Linked DNA regions of Homo sapiens: regions 2, 3, 4 and 5 are each linked to region 1. The links are contacts of gene promoters, found by promoter capture Hi-C in blood cells and fetal thymus (Javierre and others, 2016). All regions are on one chromosome and are shown on one strand. The core of a region is centred on a gene start or on the middle of the fragment in contact, and the rest is flanking DNA. Distances in the headings are between cores, read along the strand shown.

Region 1 (3,180 bases), core at 187-2,686:
AGTTTGGGTTCCAGGTGAAAGCCCCTTCTTGCTCTGTCCTCACATGGCACACAGAGGAGAACAAGCTCTTCGTTGTTTTTTCTCATAAGGGCACTAATCTCGCCATGGGCGACCCACCAAGGTGACCTCATCTAAATTGAATTACCTCCCAAAGGCTCCATCTCCAAATACCAACATATTGGGGTGGGGTAGGGCTTTAACATATGGATTGGGGGAGGAGGGAAATAGTTCAGTCCACAGCTGGTGGCAATGCCCAAGCTCAACGGAAGATTAAAGTACTGAATTAGGGAGAACTGTGAGATGAGGTTAGAAAGACTAATCATACGGAGGTCATCAAGTGCCAAACTAAAGAGCCACTGGGCTTTTTAGATCATAAATCCGGGGGTTGCTTATGGGATGGATTTTGTTAGAGATCACGAGTAGGAAAACCATTTGGGGGAGTAATGTAACAATCCCTGAGGGAAAAATAAAAACTAACACTATGATGACAACCCTCGAATGCACCACCACCAGGAAGCCTTTCCTGATGCTTCGCCAGAGAGGTTCTCTTTAAACGCGAATTTTTCTTGAGTTATCCTAGAAATGTAAGTTACACCTCACATTTCGCCTTCTTTCGTACATGTTCCTGTGCGTTTCCTAATCCTTCCACTTTGTAGTTCCTCCAGCACCGGTTGTGTCCGAGGGCCCTTCTGGCGGAGCCACACTCGCTCGGCCCAAGGTCCCGCCCTCCAGCATCAGGATGCACGGACAGTATTTGTGGACTTGACCGCATCCCAGGAAATCCAGCGGGCCTGGCCACTTCTGGGCGCCAGGACCACAGCCGGCCACCCCACGGACGCCTGGGACGCTCTTCTGGGCCCCCTTCGGGGCTGGGCGTCGGGCTCGCAACAACTGCGACCAACTGGCTCCGCGAGGCCTGGGGCGCAGGGGTGGGGCTCACGTCGTGGGACGGTTGCATGGATTATTTTCGATTGATTTCCGAACCTTCAGGAAGCAGACACGCTCCCCTTCCTTCTTAGGGATGGGGCGGCAGCCAACGAAAGCCCGAAGCCGCCTCCTTTTCTGAGTGGGGAGCTTAGAGATGCTCAGGAGGGACCTCCCCGATTCTGCGATTCTGAGCATCAATTTTGGCAGGAGGCTAGATAGAAGTAGCAATTGACATTCATCACCCTAAAGTGCGGATTATGTCAGTACAGATGCTACGATAGAAGAACTAAAAAATGACAGAAATGGTTTTACTGTTTTTAAACTCTGGGAGCCTACTCCTTTAAGAGATTAGGCAGTACGCCTATTCTCGCCTGGTCCCAGCGTACCTTGCGCGGCTCGCCGTCCCCCACTCACGTACCAGGGCTCATTGCGTGACGGTTACACTTCCGGCGGGCTACGTGCGCGCGGCGAGCGCCGGGCGTACTTTTGCGTGGTTGCTCCACCCCCTCAGCCTTGCCTTCGCCGCCGTTGGGGCTGGAAGTTCCCGCCAGGTCCGTGCCGGGCGAGAGAGATGCTGCCCGGCCCGCCTCGGCTTTGAGGCGAGAGAAGTGTCCCAGACCCATTTCGCCTTGCTGACGGCGTCGAGCCCTGGCCAGACATGTCCACAGGGTTCTCCTTCGGGTCCGGGACTCTGGGCTCCACCACCGTGGCCGCCGGCGGGACCAGCACAGGCGGCGTTTTCTCCTTCGGAACGGGAGCGTCTAGGTAACCGCACTTTCTCGCCTTCCTGGGCCGGATTCACCCCCACCCCCACCCCCGCAAAGCTCCCTTGGTGTCCCCATCCTGTCTCTTCCCTCTGGCTTCCTTCCCAGTGGGGCTGGAGAGAAGCACTTAATCTAGCCGCCCGGCGTCGTAGGCCTCTCGCCGCGGTACCCGGGCCCAGCGCGGCCTGGTGAAGTGGAGGGCGGGATGGGTTCTGTGCTGTGAGGTTTCCAGAATCCACGTATAGTTCAGGCATTATTTGGACCTAGTGGGGTCTTGACTGCGTGGAAGGGCCTTGGGGTCTACCCCGGAGCTTTAGCGATGTGTCAGTCTTAGGCATAGAATGAACATTGAATGAATGAATGAAATTATAGCATACTGTGGAGTTTTATGATAGATAATTCCGATTTCATTGCAGCATTTGCGGTTTTGGATATGACGGTGTTTTAATAACTTTGTGGTTTTTAACCAGCTTTTCAAGCTTTTGTGCCACATGGGACCTTATCTGTTTTTGTTAAAAAAAACAAAAACACTTTTTTACAGTGTTTATTAGTGGTAATTTTCTGCAGTATGTGCAGATTAGTATATCTGATGCGAGAATGTTGTGTTGTAATAACTCAATTTGTCTTTTACTTAAATTACAAAACGTAGGTAGCATGTTCCTTGTTTTTGTGCAACCCATTAGTTCAGGTGGCGACAAAAACATAACTATCCAGAAAGAAACAAAGTGGTGAGACATTTTAATGAGAGATTTAAGCTTTAGAACTCAATTTTTTTTAAGATAAAGGTGGAGGGGTTCATAAAGTTAAGGAGTGTGCACACTGTCAACAAGATACTTCCTGAAGCTTAAAAGATGTGGCTGTAGATTTAAAAGGCAAATACTTAAGCATGACCTGCAGTTTAAAAAGGGAGGGAGGAGGAACCACGGACTACACAGTCAATTCAGAAATTTGAATTTTCATCCATACCTCCGTTATTCTTACTCTACTCGCTCAACAACAGGTTCTGATAATGTTACTTCTGCCATTTCTGTTTGTCTTTATTTCCAGTTCCACAACCCTGCTTAGGCTATTGTCATTCGTGGAACAAATATTTATTGGACAGATTCCCATGTGCAAGGCTCTGTTTTAGGTATTAAGAGTCTTGCTCTCTTGATCCTTACATTCTTATGAAAATAATTTTGATTCTTGTCAGATTTTTAACCAGCTGTCTTTCTTGTTTTAGATGAAAACTACTCCAATCAACTTCTTCAATCTGTTCTGCCACATTTTAGCCAGAGTAATTGAAAAACAAAATTCCCATTGCTCTCTCTTTAATCATTACCCGCCATCGTTAGAATGAAGTTTAAAAAAGAAAAAAAAACTTACCATAGTCTGCAAGGTCCACTTCTGCTGGAACCTCTGGGGACTCATCTTGAGCGGGACTCATCTTGAGCCCATCTTTTTATTTTAGCTATGCAGACCCACTGTTAAAAACAAACACACAACTACC
Region 2 (3,180 bases), core at 313-2,812, 2.8 Mb after region 1:
GCTTTATGACACATTCCCTTTTCCTCCTTGCTCTTGATTCATTTTTGTCCTTGTGTTAAAGTCTGTTATTATTAATTCTTTTTTAATAATAAAAATAGTTAAGACTGTAGTCTGGCTATTTAAGTGCCTGTAGTCCCAGCTACTTGGGAGGCTGAAGCAGGAGGATCCTTTAAGCCCAGGAGTTTGAGGCCAGCATGGACAACATAGTAAGACCCTGTCTCTTAAATAAATAGAAATATAAATGAAAAATAAGGCCGGTTGCGATGGCTCACACTCGTAATCCCAGCTTTTGGGAGGCTGAGGTGGGAGGATTGCTTGAGCTCAGGAGTTCAAGACCAGCCTGGGTAACACAGTGAGACCCTGTCTCTTCAAAAAATAAAAAATTTGCCAGGACTGGCGGCACATGCCTGTAGTCCCAGCTACTTTGAGGTGGGAGGATCACTTGAGCCTAAGAGGTTGAGGCTGCAGTGAGCCATGATCATGCGACTGCAGTCCAGCCTAGATGACAGACCATGACTCTGTCTCAAAATAAAATAAAATAAAATAAAAAACCTTGTGAATAAATTTTAGCACTTATATTATTGCTCTATAATAGGTCATGTGAAAGGGTTAACAGACAGTAAAAGACAAAGTTTTTTTTTTTTTTTTTCGGGAGCTTCATTTTATTAATAGTATATCTTATTAAGATTCTTGCTTTTTACAGAAAAGTTGTAAAGATTAAGAAAAAAAATTCTGGCCGGGAGCGGTGGCTCATGCCTGTAATCCCAGCACTTTGGGAGGCCAAGGCGGGTGGATCACCTGAGGTCAGGAGTTTGAGACCAGCCTGGCCAACATGGAGAAACCCCGTCTCTACTAAAAATACAAAATTAGCTGGGGGTGGTGGCGCATGCCTGTAATCCCAGCTACTCAGGAGGCTGAGGCAGGAGAATGGCGTGAACCCGGGAGGTGGAGCTTGCAGTGAGCCGAGATTGCGCCACTGCACTCTAGCCTGGGCGACAGAGTGAGACTCCGTCTCAAAAAAAAGAAAAAAAAAATTCTTGCTTTAATACATATCTTTTTCAGCAAGTCTCCTGATTTAAAGTTTTTCATCCAAGTATAAATTAGAAAATCTAAACTGAAATAAACATAGTCTTTGAAATAGTAAAATCAATTATTAATAGAGAATTATCCGATTTAAGATTATAATGGTCATATTTCACATACAAATATTAGTTTCTGGAGTAGGGGGTGCTTAACCAACAGAAGTGGTAATAGTGAGTTTTGCTAAGTTAAAGGTACTTCTATATGGCTGGTGGTAGTTGTATGGGATGATACCAATGATATACTAGATTGTCAGGGCCATTTCCAAGATATAATTAATTTCAAAATCATATTTGCCTTTAATGTATTTCACAAGAATATAATAAATATGAGCATCTTGAAATCCTTTGAAAACTTGTATAGAAAGGTAACAAATTGCTTTTACTGCCATAAACACTAAAAAAACCTATGTAGTATATATCAGTACATAAGTATGATGATAATGATGAAAGACTATGTCTTCTATAAAGGGTCATAGATACATTAAAAAATCTTTTTTTTGAGACGTAGTCTTGCTCTGTCACCCAGGCTGGAGTGCAGTAGCACGATCTTGGCTCACTGCAACCTCTGCCTCCCAGGTTCAAGTGATTCTCGTGCCTCAGCCTCCCGAGTAGCTGGGATTATAGGCACTTGCACCAGGCACTTGCACCACCACGTCTGGCTAACTTTTGTATTTTTAGTAGAGATGGGGTTTCACCATGTTGGCCTGGCTGTTCTGGAACCCTGGCCTCAAGTGATTCGCCTACCTTGGACTCCCAAAATGCTGGGATTACAGGCGTGGGTCACTGCGCCTGGCCAAAAAATCTGTCATGTATCAGTTATTTATCACTGCCACAAATAGGAAGGTTTTTGCTTCTAGTGCACCCAAAATTTGTCAACAAGATTAAATTAAGCAGTTGCTAGTAACTTTGTATAAAATTATAGAGCTTAGTGCATAAGGAACATACTTTACAAATATGTAAGAAATGTATTTATACATATGCAGCAAATTTCATTTCTAGGACTCAAAAACAGTCAACTCTCATTTATCCACATGCAGTTTCCACTCTATCTTAAGGGATAATTTTTATTTTTTTTTGAGACAGGGTCACCTTTTTTTCACCAGGTGACACCAGGGTTGCTGTCACCTAGGCTGTCACTGCAGCCTCGACCTCCTGGCCCAAGCAATCCTCCCACCTAAGCCTCCCAAGTAGCTGTGACCACAGAATGCCACCATGCCCAGCTAAATTTTTTTGTAGAGACAGTGTTTCCCTATGTTGCCTAGGCTGGTCTCAGAACTTCTGAGCCAAGTGATTCTCCTGCCTTGACCTCCTAAAGTGTTAGGATTATAAGTGTGAGCCACATGCTTGTCCTTAAGGGAGAATTTTTAAGACTCAGGCTGCTATCACTAATATAATAATTAACCATTCAGAAAATGTGACGTTTTCCTCTCAATCTTTATTATTATTAATTTTGAGATGAAGTCTCGCTCTGTTGCCCAGGCTGGAATGCAATGGCGCAATCTCGGCTCACTGTAACCTCCGCCTCCCAGGTTCAAGCAATTCTCCTGCCTCAGCCTCCCGAGAAGCTGGGATTACAGGTGCCTGCCACCATGCCTAGCTAATTTTCTGTATTTTTGGTAGAGACGGGGTTTCACCACGTTGGTCAGGCTGGTCTCAAACTCCTTACCTCAAGTGATCCACCCACTTCCGCCTCCCAAAGTGCTAGGATTACAGGTGTGAGCCAATGCGCTTGGCCTCAATTATTAGCATTTAATAGAAATTAACATTACCCTTTAGCAATGTAGTCTCTGTTGCTGGGGAAATGCTGTTGGAGGTCAAGTATACATTTTATGAATAATTTATGGATTATTTGCAGTTTTGGATGTAATCTTCATTAACATGAAAATAACTTAGAGTTGACTACATATTTATTTTTAGTAAAGGAATACTCAACAATGAACCCTGCTTAAAAAGACAACCCTACTATAGGAATAAGTAGTTGTCTCCTAAAAAAGTGTGGAGATATGAAATGTGTGGCAAATAAGTTTATTTTTTATTTATTGACCGAGAGGGTCTCACTGCTGTGCAGGTTGGCATAAAATGGCGCCTTCAAAGCTCA
Region 3 (3,180 bases), core at 79-2,578, 2.3 Mb after region 1:
AATTAAGCCAGCATTGAAAATGAGGAAACTGAGAATATCAGAGGCCTAGACAAGAACTGTGATCATGGGAATTAAAAGAAGTATATATCCATGTCTGTAGTTGGAGTGGTGGGGGTAAGGGAAGAGACAAAAACCATGACCCCAGTTAGATTGTTGTTTAAAAACAGAAGGAAAGAAGATTGGGGTGGGGACTTGGCTTCTTGCTAAACTTTTTGGCTTTTAAAGAATTGCATCATTTGCTGTGATTGGTAGACTTGGCAAGGGTGGGAATAATTTGGAAGAAGTGTGAGAATTCTGGTTTTACATGAGAGTTTTAGGGAGTAAGGCTCCATCTTTGAGGCATTTACAGGAAAGATACCAGTTTACTGCTTGAATTTTGGGATATACTTAGTCATGATCTAAGTAAGGTAAGATGTTTTGATTATATTACAGAAGGAGAAAATTGGGATGACTAGAAAACATTTTCAGTCCTTAAGTAGGTATAGCCTAGGGTAATGTAGAAGAAGCCCTATTTGAGAGAAGGTAAAGCCAAGGAGAAGGAAAATTCCATATAGGGGAAATGACTGTTTTGGAAAACACATATCCCACCCGCCAGTGCTCTGTGCTTTGGGCCCTTGTTTATCTATCCCCTCTTCCTGGGCCAGTCTTACTCCTGCCGTACTCTTAAGTCAAAGCTTATGTGTCAGGCCTCTCAGCCTAGTTTGGGTACTTCTTTGTGCTTTCATTACACCCTGTGTTTCCTGGCCTTGGCATTTACTATGCTATTGGTAGTGCTTATCTTGTTTACCCACTAAACCAACTTGGAGGTCAACATGATTCTGGTACCTGGAACACCTGACAGGTAGTGGACACTTAGTAAATACTCTATGAATTCATGTAAGTAGTTATGGCATGCAGCTTTTCAGTCACTCAAACCTGACCTCTTACACTAGCGTGCCATAGAGCCTACATTTCCTACACTCAGCCAAATTCTTTAAAGAGATATCCATATTTTTGAGCACTAGTATGTTCCAGGCCTTGGGGATAGATATATAGCTATAGTGGATGAGACAGAGTAAGTCCTGTTCTCATAAAGCATGTGTTATAAGAGCCCCTTAAAAAAAAATTGTGAGGCTCGGCATGGTGGCTCACACCTGGGAAGCCAAGGTGGGAGGATCACTTGAGCCCAGGAGTTTGAGACAAGCCTGGGCAACATGGGGAGTCCCTGTCTCTACAAAAAAATAAAAAAGGTAGCCAGGCATGGTGACACATGCCTGTAGTCCCAGCTGCTTGGGAAGCTGAGGCGAGAGGATATCTTGAACCTAGGAGGTTGAGGCTGCAATGAGCCATGATCACACCATTGCACTCCAGCCTGGGTGACAGAGGGAGACCTTGTCTCAAAAAAATATATAAAATTAAAAACTTGTAATTCTGTAAAAGCAGCAAATGTAGGGTCAAGATAGAAAACATAAGAAAGGAATCTACTTTAGGCACGGAAGTTAGGAAAGGTGTTCTAGAGATTACAGGAAGGGAGAGAGCTGGCTGTGCAAAGAGGAGAGAAAATGCATTCTGGGGGTATAGCATGTGCAAAGGTCCTAAAGCAGAAAACTGGTGGCATGAGGAACTGAAGATATTGAACAAAGATTTGCATGTTTTTGTAGCACAGTAGACAAGGAGAAGGGCCTGTCCTCTGGAGTCCATGGGAGGAAGAGTTGGGGTAGTAGGGATTTTGGATTTTAGGTTCAGTGGGAATGACGTCTTCTTTACTTTGATTACAGAGTGGGGGGAGATGAATTATAGGGAGGCTGGAGTAGAAGCAGAGAGAGACACTATAAAGAGTTGAAGTGGCCTGGAAGGGTAGAAGCTAGTGATGGAGAAGAGAAGGTAGGTTTGAGGTATATTTTAGAATTGAATTGGCACAGAATTGGTACACTTCAGGAACTGTGGAAGATGAAGAATCAAAGATGACTACTGCCTAGCTTTGGGGCCAATTACTGAAATTGGGAAGCTTAAAATGGAAAATAGATTGGGAGGTGGAAAAGATGATAGGAGTCAAAAGTTTCATTTGTGAACATTGTAAGCAGTGGCTATGTGAGTTGGAGATCGTGGAAGAGATCTAAGCTGGAGACAAATTTTATGAGTCCTTGCCATAAAGATGACATAAATTGATTAAAAAAAAAAAAATAGAGGGTGACAAAGAAGTGGGCCCAGAACAAAGCCCTAGGCAACTTCAGTATTTAAAGTTTGGGTCAAAGAAGAGTTAAAGATAAGAGTATTTGTAAGTTTGGGTCAATGTAATGGTAGGAAAGTGCAAAAATAGGGTGTGGAAGCCAAGGGTTTCAAATAGGGAATAGAAAAATGTCACCTGGAGTTAACGTGGAGGTCACTAGGCAGTAACAGCATTAGTTTACTGCCTAAGAAGAGTAAACATTACCACTCATTATACAGAGGAATGGCTTAGTTTGGTTTTCCAATAAAAGAATCACATGAAGACATTGGAAGAGGTGAGTTTAGGCGGGAGCAGGGATGTCATAGGGCAAGGATACAGCATATTCTCTTATGGTGACAGTAAGAAATTCTGGAAAGTCAATGTTTGTTTAAGGGCATTAGCCTTTGAAGATAAAAGGAAGCTCAAAAAGGATGTGGAAAAGGATTAAAAACTTTTTTCCTCTCCCAAAACTTTGCCTGTGGGGATAGTAAACAGAATTACTTACCTGGAGTTTAATTCCTCTAAACCAAGGCCTGTCAGGAGATGAAAACAAAGTTTAATTAGTGGACATCAAGGTACAGACTGATGATAGTAGATGAAGTACAGTGGGAAACACAGCCAGAGGCGACCGCTCACCACATCACAACTTCATTGCACCTAAAAGAATTTAGACTGATCACGTAGAATGCAGTCTTGAATGTCTTTAGGGTGACCATAAACTCACGGGTTCATACAAAACACCTGCAGAAGGCAGTTGGGTGGAGGGAAGAAACTGAGAAGGGGGCAGGCAGGTTAACCAAGAGTCTTGTATATGTGAAAGGAATCTGCATAAAGTCTGTAGGGACCTGAGGGAAAGCTGAGTTGGTCCAAAAAGGACTAGGGAGATGAATGTGAATCTTATACATCCTGTGAAAAGTTAATCCGCATCTGATTTGCACTCCAATAGCATTTCATTCTAAATAAACTCATGCCAGTGATTCAAGATCAGAAAT
Region 4 (3,180 bases), core at 1-2,500, 2.2 Mb after region 1:
CAAGCGATTGACATACTGTAGCGGACGCAAGTACAGCGGATCTGCGGCGAGTCCCCTTCGCTCTCCGTAGTGGGCGGGGCTTCACCCCGCGTCCTTTAAAGGAAAGGTGATGGGCGGAGCCACGTTTTTCTACTGTTGGGATTCAGTTCCGCCGACAGAAAATGCGGAGAACGCGGAGGAAGTCCCTGAGGGGAAATTGCTGCTCACCTGGCTCCCGCTGCTCCGCAGGTGCGGTGAAGGCTAATGTCGAATTTCTGCAGCAATCGGAGCAGCCCTTACTCCAGTTACATTAACACCAATCTCGGTCTCCCACTAGGGCTTTATAAATTGCTTTCATAAACGTCTTTTTAATGTAACACTGAATAAAATGTTTTATAAGCGTCTTTTATAAGGATCGTAAGTGAAAGGGCGCTGTCTCCGATTTGCAGGTGAGCAGACAGCTTCGGAGTGAGAACGGCTCCCCGCGGGTCCCCGGTGGCGCGCGGCTCCCGGAGGCAAAACAAAGCTGGGGCCGGGGCGTCGGAGCCTCCGCGTTGTAGTTGGGAGAGGTTCGAACGGGGCCCCAGCTGGCGAAAGGGAAAACGGACCCGGACCCGGACCCGTGGAGCCTGCTCGAAAGCCGGGTGCTGGGGGTCTGGGCCCCGTGTCCCCCCTCTTTTTCTTCTTCAATAAGAAATTCCTCAAGGGCAGACTGCGAGTCCACAGTCGTGAAGCCACCTAATCTGGCTTCATACCTGGAATGTTTGGATTCCTGGTACGAAGAAAAACTAACATTTATTGGCTACTTGTCCACTGGAAGGCGTTGTCTTATTTCTCATTAACTCCTTGAGTCAGCATTACGTCTTTTATTACAGATGACACAACTACTAAAGCTTTAAATAGTTCTTTGGGAGCAAAGACGAAATCTCCATTTCCTTTTTAGCTGCTGGTAGCTCGACGCTCACTGTTAAAATAGGGAGGTAATGAAACAACTCTTGTGTGAGACCGAAAGTCCAGGTGTGCATCTTGGCCATTTCCAAGTTAATCAAGAAGAATTAAGGATTCATTTTATTCTATCAAAATTATTTCTCAATGCCAAGATATTTTGTGTGACGTAGATTCGGGGACAGACTGAGTAGCACAATACCTGGGAAAAGTTAGGTGCTCAGCAATTATAATTGCCCACATTTGTGATTGCTTTTGCCTATGTGCCAGACACTGTTCTACGCACTGAACATATCTCAAGTTATTCAATCTTCAGGACAACCTTATGAGCCAATTATTATTATTACCCATTTTACAGATGAGGGAACTGAAACAAATTTGCCCAAGGTCGCACAACTAGTAGCAGAATCAAGAATAAAAAAGCCAAAAAACCCCAAACCCAGGCAAACTTTAAATGTTCCTTGCATTGCTAGACTGAAGTAGTGAGAGAAACAGTAAACAGTACGAGTCCATGAAAACATTAAAAGGATGTGAAGTATGTACAAGTAACTGAAACATTTAATGCCCAAACTAAAGACTTAAAATTTGCTAAGGTAATAGCACAGGTAGATTCACACCAAGTAATCACTGGTAACTGAAGCTACCGGCCAGCATCCATTTGCAGTCCGTCTTTGAAGGCAGCTGTGTCCAGAGCAGGTGGTTTAGGAAGCTTTCTAGACTTCCATTGTCAGATGTCTCCACGCCTAGAAGATGGTGCTTTAGTGTTCCTGGGAGGAGACATGCAGAGATGGGGTGGCAATTACAGACATGCCCACAGATGGAGAGAAGCCATTTTTTTCATCTTTTCCCTTGAACTCTTCTTTGACCTCCAGCCGAAATGGAGCTTGGCAGCTTTTGTGGGGTTTTTTGTTTTTTTGTTTTGTTTTGTTTTGTTTTGTTTTTGGAGATGGAGTCTCTCTGTGTCGCCCAGGCTGGAGTGCAGTGGCGCGATCTCGGCTCACTGCAACCTCCACCTCGCGGGTTCAAGCGATTCTCCTGCCTCAGCCTCCCGAGTAGCTGGGATTATAGGCGCGTGCCACTGGGTCGGGCTAATTTTTGTATTTTTAGTAGAGACGGGGTTTCACCATATTGGCCAGTCTGATCTCGAACTCCTGACCTCAGGTGATCCACCCCACTCGGCCTCCCAAAGTGGTAGGATTACGGGTGTGAGCCACCACGCCCGGCCACTTGGAAGCTTTTAAAGAGTCATTGAGAGCCTTGAGCTGTGCTTGGTGGGGGCAGACTTTGAAGATCCTTGAATAAAGATGAAGAGGTTTGGGGAAATGCTATTACTATGCCACAGATCTTTAATAAACTACTCCGTTATGTACATAGAAGAGGACTCTGAGACATGTGTAGAGCTTTCCCAATTGTTATCGTTTCTACATATAATTTAACCCCCTCAAAAAATGTAACTCAATAAGACTCAAATCATGGTGACTCTAAAAATGCCTATATTTTCTATTACATAGTAATTTCTACGTTAATTTCCATAGCATGCCCATGAACTTTCTCTTTCAATGAATATATTGGTGATTTGCTCTGATGAAGGAATAATGGAAATATCCCGTCCCTCTCTTTGCCTGTTAGCTTTCCAAGTCCTCCCACTTTTCCCCAACGCCGAGGGGACCTTCCAAAACAGGATTGTATGTGAGATTTACTTGCTTAGCCCAAGGTCATTGAGGTACAACATATCTGATCCACAAAAGAATCAGTCTGTGGGTGATTTCTTTAAAAAGTTATGAACACTGGGCTGCGTCTTTATAATGCCACAATGACTAACAATTCATTTAAAAATCTAATACTAATAAAAATCCTGGTGGTGGTTGTTTTTTTGTTTTGTTTGTTTGTTTTTTGAGACGGAGTCTCACTCTGCTGCCGAGGCTGGAGTGCAGTGGCACCGTGTCGGCTCTGCAACCTCCGCCTCCTGGATTCAAGCAGTTCTCCTGCCTCAGCCTCCCAAGTAGCTGGGATTATAGGCACCCACTACCACGCCTGGCTAGTTTTTATATTTTTAGTACAGACGGGATTTCACCATGTTGGCCAGGCTGGTCTCGAACTCCTGACCTCAGGTAATCCACCTGCCTCGGCCCCAAAAAGTGCTGGGATTACAGGCATGAGCCACCATGCCCAGTCAAAATCTTGGGTTTATTTTGAAGATACGAAGCATCTTCAAACTTTAAAGCCCATGTGGGTTCAGATATTCAGCATATTCTT
Region 5 (3,180 bases), core at 1-2,500, 2.1 Mb after region 1:
CCTGGGCTTGGAGGCGCCGGCGCCCTGGATCCGCCGGCCGTGGTCGCCGAGTCGGTGTCGTCCTTGACCATCGCCGACGCGTTCATTGCAGCCGGCGAGAGCTCAGCTCCGACCCCGCCGCGCCCCGCGCTTCCCAGGAGGTTCATCTGCTCCTTCCCTGACTGCAGCGCCAATTACAGCAAAGCCTGGAAGCTTGACGCGCACCTGTGCAAGCACACGGGGGAGGTGAGGGGGGCGAGGCTGCCAACCCTGGGCCTAGGGATGGCGCGTGGCCCCGGGGTAGCCACTGCAGTCGTGGCCAGGGCCGCAGGCCCCGCTGTGCAGCGCGTTCAGCTTTGACATCCAGGACTTGGGGAAGGAGCTGAGGAAGTAGACAGGAAGTTGTAGGACCTTCGTTCTGCGACCTTGATATCCATGGCAGGGGCTCGGGATTTACTAAGCAGTCATTGATCGTGAGTCTCGGCCAGCCAAGTGCCTCCCGTAATCTGCAAATAAGTGTGAGGTTTGAGGGGGCCCACCGCTACTAGACACCTGCCAAACACTGGCCCCTGGAGCTGGTACAGAAGATGGGTTACATGTACCAGGGGTCGTGAAAGCAGCATGTGCTCATTTCTTCGTAACTCCACACTGGAGAGAGCAGTGAGCAAAACAGGCAAACCCAAGGTTTCTGCTGCCATGGACCTTTGTTCCTGGGTCGAGCCGACCACAGGATAGGTGGGAATGACATGCAGTGTTGTGGTCAGGAAAGGCCTCTCTGTGTGAGCCGTGTAAGAAGGAAGGATCTAGCCATGCAGACATTTGTGCTAGGTAGAGAGAACACAAAGGGAGCCTGTGACCCTTGGGGTGGGAGGCAGGTGGGTGTGTTTGGGTGCGGAGATCACCATATGAGGTCTGAGAAGTAGGCCCATTAGGAGTTTGGATTTTATTTTGAGGGCAGGAGAATGTCAGATACCATGATATGACGTGGCAGCCCATGTCACACACAAGTGAGGAAAACGAGGGTCATGGAGGTCAAGGAATCTGCCCAGCTTCCCAGTTTTTGGCAGAGCTAGGCTTCACACTGCCTCAGCTTAAAGCCCTTAATTTCTTAAACCACTGGGCTGCAGTCCATACCTTTGCCCCTTGCACCTCCTCTAATTTATGGGCCACCTTCTCCAGGTGTCCTCCGGGGCCTCATTCCTTAACCTCTCCAGCACTGGAAGGCCGACCGCTTCTTCCTTGAGACCTTCTCTGGTTCTTTTCCTCTTCCTCGTCTGCCCTTTTCGTTGGATCCTCTTCTGCCCTCTGCATGTTCCACCCCGCCCAGCTCCCTCTTGCGGTCTTACATAGCCACCGGCATGACTCATAACATCCTTTATGCTTTGCCCCTCTGCCCTTCCTCTTGCCCGTTCTAGCCTCTAAATTCTGGGCTCTGTATTACCAGTAGATCCACGTAAGAGCTTGCCTTTCCTTTTAGACCGGTGTGCTGTATTTTGGATACTGGCGCTACCAGTTTCCTTAATACAGGTTGAAAAACTTGGAGTCATCTTTGTTGTCCCAGATCTCTCATGCAGATTAATTTGACAAATGTTTATTGAGCCTACTCCACGCCTGCCGCTGTGCAAGGTTCTGTGGCTCCGCCCCTGGTGGTATGTAGCTCACTGTGTTCCTGTTTGCTTGTTTTGCTCCTAGTACTCTCATGGAGGCCTCGGTGCCTCCCTCCTGGACGCCTTGGTAGTATGCTTTTCATAGTTTGATGCACCAAACTGGTTATTTGGTTATTTGGGGTGTGTGTTTGGCTTTTACTATAGGTTCAAAATGAGTCACCCCCTCCCAACTCCTGGGTTACAAAAGGTGGTTGCATTTAGGGTGTTGAGCTGTTTTCTTTGCTTCGCCCTGGCACCTGTGAGCTTTTTCAGGTGTGACACACTTTCCTATAGCTGTGCTTGGCATTATCCTAGCACAGACCCTGGGCTTGTCTGGGATGAGACAGGCCTCCCTCGTTCCTCTGCCCTAGGCTTGCTTTTTTACATGTTAAATCATGCGGTGGTGGGGATCCATGCAGACAAGCCATGCTAACAGCCAGGGCGTCTTTAAGAGGGGGTTGCTGTGAAAGCCTGCTGCCGGGTTGGGAGCAGGTTAAAAATGCTATGCCTGCTTATTTTAAATGCTGTTCATGGAACAAAAATCTGTGTAGTGACTTTGTGAGAAGTTGTGATGTTTATGTTGTGTAACTTTGTGCAGGAACACTGCGTCTTGCAGTGGGTGCACAGCTCTGAGTAGAAACCACCTCTTCATAGGAAGCCTGTGGCCTTAACACTAGGCAGTTTAAGCTTTTAAATAATACCAGAGTTACTAACTAGTGCAGAAGTGACATGCTTTTTCTTTTTTCCTGCTAGAGACCATTTGTTTGTGACTATGAAGGGTGTGGCAAGGCCTTCATCAGGGACTACCATCTGAGCCGCCACATTCTGACTCACACAGGAGAAAAGCCGTTTGTGTAAGTAGAGACCTGTTTTTAGGCTTTTGAAGTGGGTTGTGTTGGGCATATAGACCCAGTAAGAAGATTGATGTTAACTCACGAGATCAGGAATGTGAAGCCTGGCAGGGCTCGGTGGCTCATGCCTGTAATCCCAGCACTTTGGGAGGCGGAGATGGGCAGATCACTTGAACCCAGGAGTTTGAGACAAACCTGGGCAACATGGTGAAACCCCGTATGTACAAAAATACAAAAATTAGTCAGGGATGGTGGTTTGTGCCTGTAATCCTAGCTACCCAGGAGGCTGAGCTAACATAAAATGCTCATGGGTGGGGACAAGCTAAAGTATATCAACACAATGGGATACCCTACAGCCAGGAAAATGAATGCAGATGCTCTCTGCAAAGCCATGAGAAAATCACCAGGGCACTTTAATTGAAAAACCAAGGTGCAGAAGAGTCCTCTTTAGGCTACTTTTATGTGTGTAAAAAAGCTAGGGGGTAGGGGGAGGGGTGAGTAGTGGGTGTTGGGTAGGCAGGAAGCAACTATATTTGTATTTGTTCCTATTTGTAAAGAAGTCTTAAAAGTTACATAACAAAACTAAAAATGTCATCTGTTTTGGGAGCAGTGGGGGATCCTGGCCAAGTAGGGGGTGGGGATGGTAGGAAATGCCATGCAACCAGGAACTACTGGACATGACTCTTCCAGCTCATGATCTAACC

The links. Contacts are between HindIII fragments. The CHiCAGO score rates a contact against its expected background, and 5 or more counts as called.
Region 2: a contact is called between a fragment that was not itself captured here and the fragment with the promoter of NUP58 in region 1, in 3 of 17 cell types (total CD4 T cells, neutrophils and naive CD8 T cells). The highest score is 7.5, in total CD4 T cells.
Region 3: a contact is called between a fragment that was not itself captured here and the fragment with the promoter of NUP58 in region 1, in 1 of 17 cell types (non-activated CD4 T cells). The highest score is 7.1, in non-activated CD4 T cells.
Region 4: a contact is called between a fragment that was not itself captured here and the fragment with the promoter of NUP58 in region 1, in 1 of 17 cell types (naive CD4 T cells). The highest score is 7.5, in naive CD4 T cells.
Region 5: a contact is called between a fragment that was not itself captured here and the fragment with the promoter of NUP58 in region 1, in 2 of 17 cell types (non-activated CD4 T cells and fetal thymus). The highest score is 6.4, in non-activated CD4 T cells.

Annotation. Positions count from the first base shown.
Region 1 is chr13:25,300,189-25,303,368 of GRCh38, forward strand. It overlaps NUP58 (nucleoporin 58), which reads left to right and starts at 1,437. Exons shown (of 16, transcript NM_014089.4): 1 at 1,437-1,692. The coding sequence starts at 1,586. RefSeq lists enhancers at 1,093-1,332, 1,493-1,572, 1,683-1,732. The HindIII fragment of the contact is 2,784 bases long and covers 1-2,168 here.
Region 2 is chr13:28,132,492-28,135,671 of GRCh38, forward strand. No RefSeq gene overlaps it. Among named protein-coding and RNA genes, the nearest start is that of PAN3, 4.5 kb to the right of the region's middle. The HindIII fragment of the contact is 6,379 bases long and covers 1-3,180 here.
Region 3 is chr13:27,623,510-27,626,689 of GRCh38, forward strand. It overlaps a transcript of POLR1D not described here. Among named protein-coding and RNA genes, the nearest start is that of POLR1D, 3.2 kb to the left of the region's middle. The HindIII fragment of the contact is 1,313 bases long and covers 673-1,985 here.
Region 4 is chr13:27,450,520-27,453,699 of GRCh38, forward strand. It overlaps MTIF3 (mitochondrial translational initiation factor 3), which reads right to left and starts at 45. Exons shown (of 5, transcript NM_152912.5): 1 at 1-45. RefSeq lists enhancers at 1-196, 40-399, 420-479. The HindIII fragment of the contact is 761 bases long and covers 871-1,631 here.
Region 5 is chr13:27,424,714-27,427,893 of GRCh38, forward strand. It overlaps GTF3A (general transcription factor IIIA), which reads left to right. Exons shown (of 9, transcript NM_002097.3): 1 at 1-225; 2 at 2,379-2,479. The coding sequence starts at 25. Among named protein-coding and RNA genes, the nearest start is that of GTF3A, 1.7 kb to the left of the region's middle. RefSeq lists silencers at 11-70, 171-250 and enhancers at 341-410, 1,361-1,580. The HindIII fragment of the contact is 2,120 bases long and covers 191-2,310 here.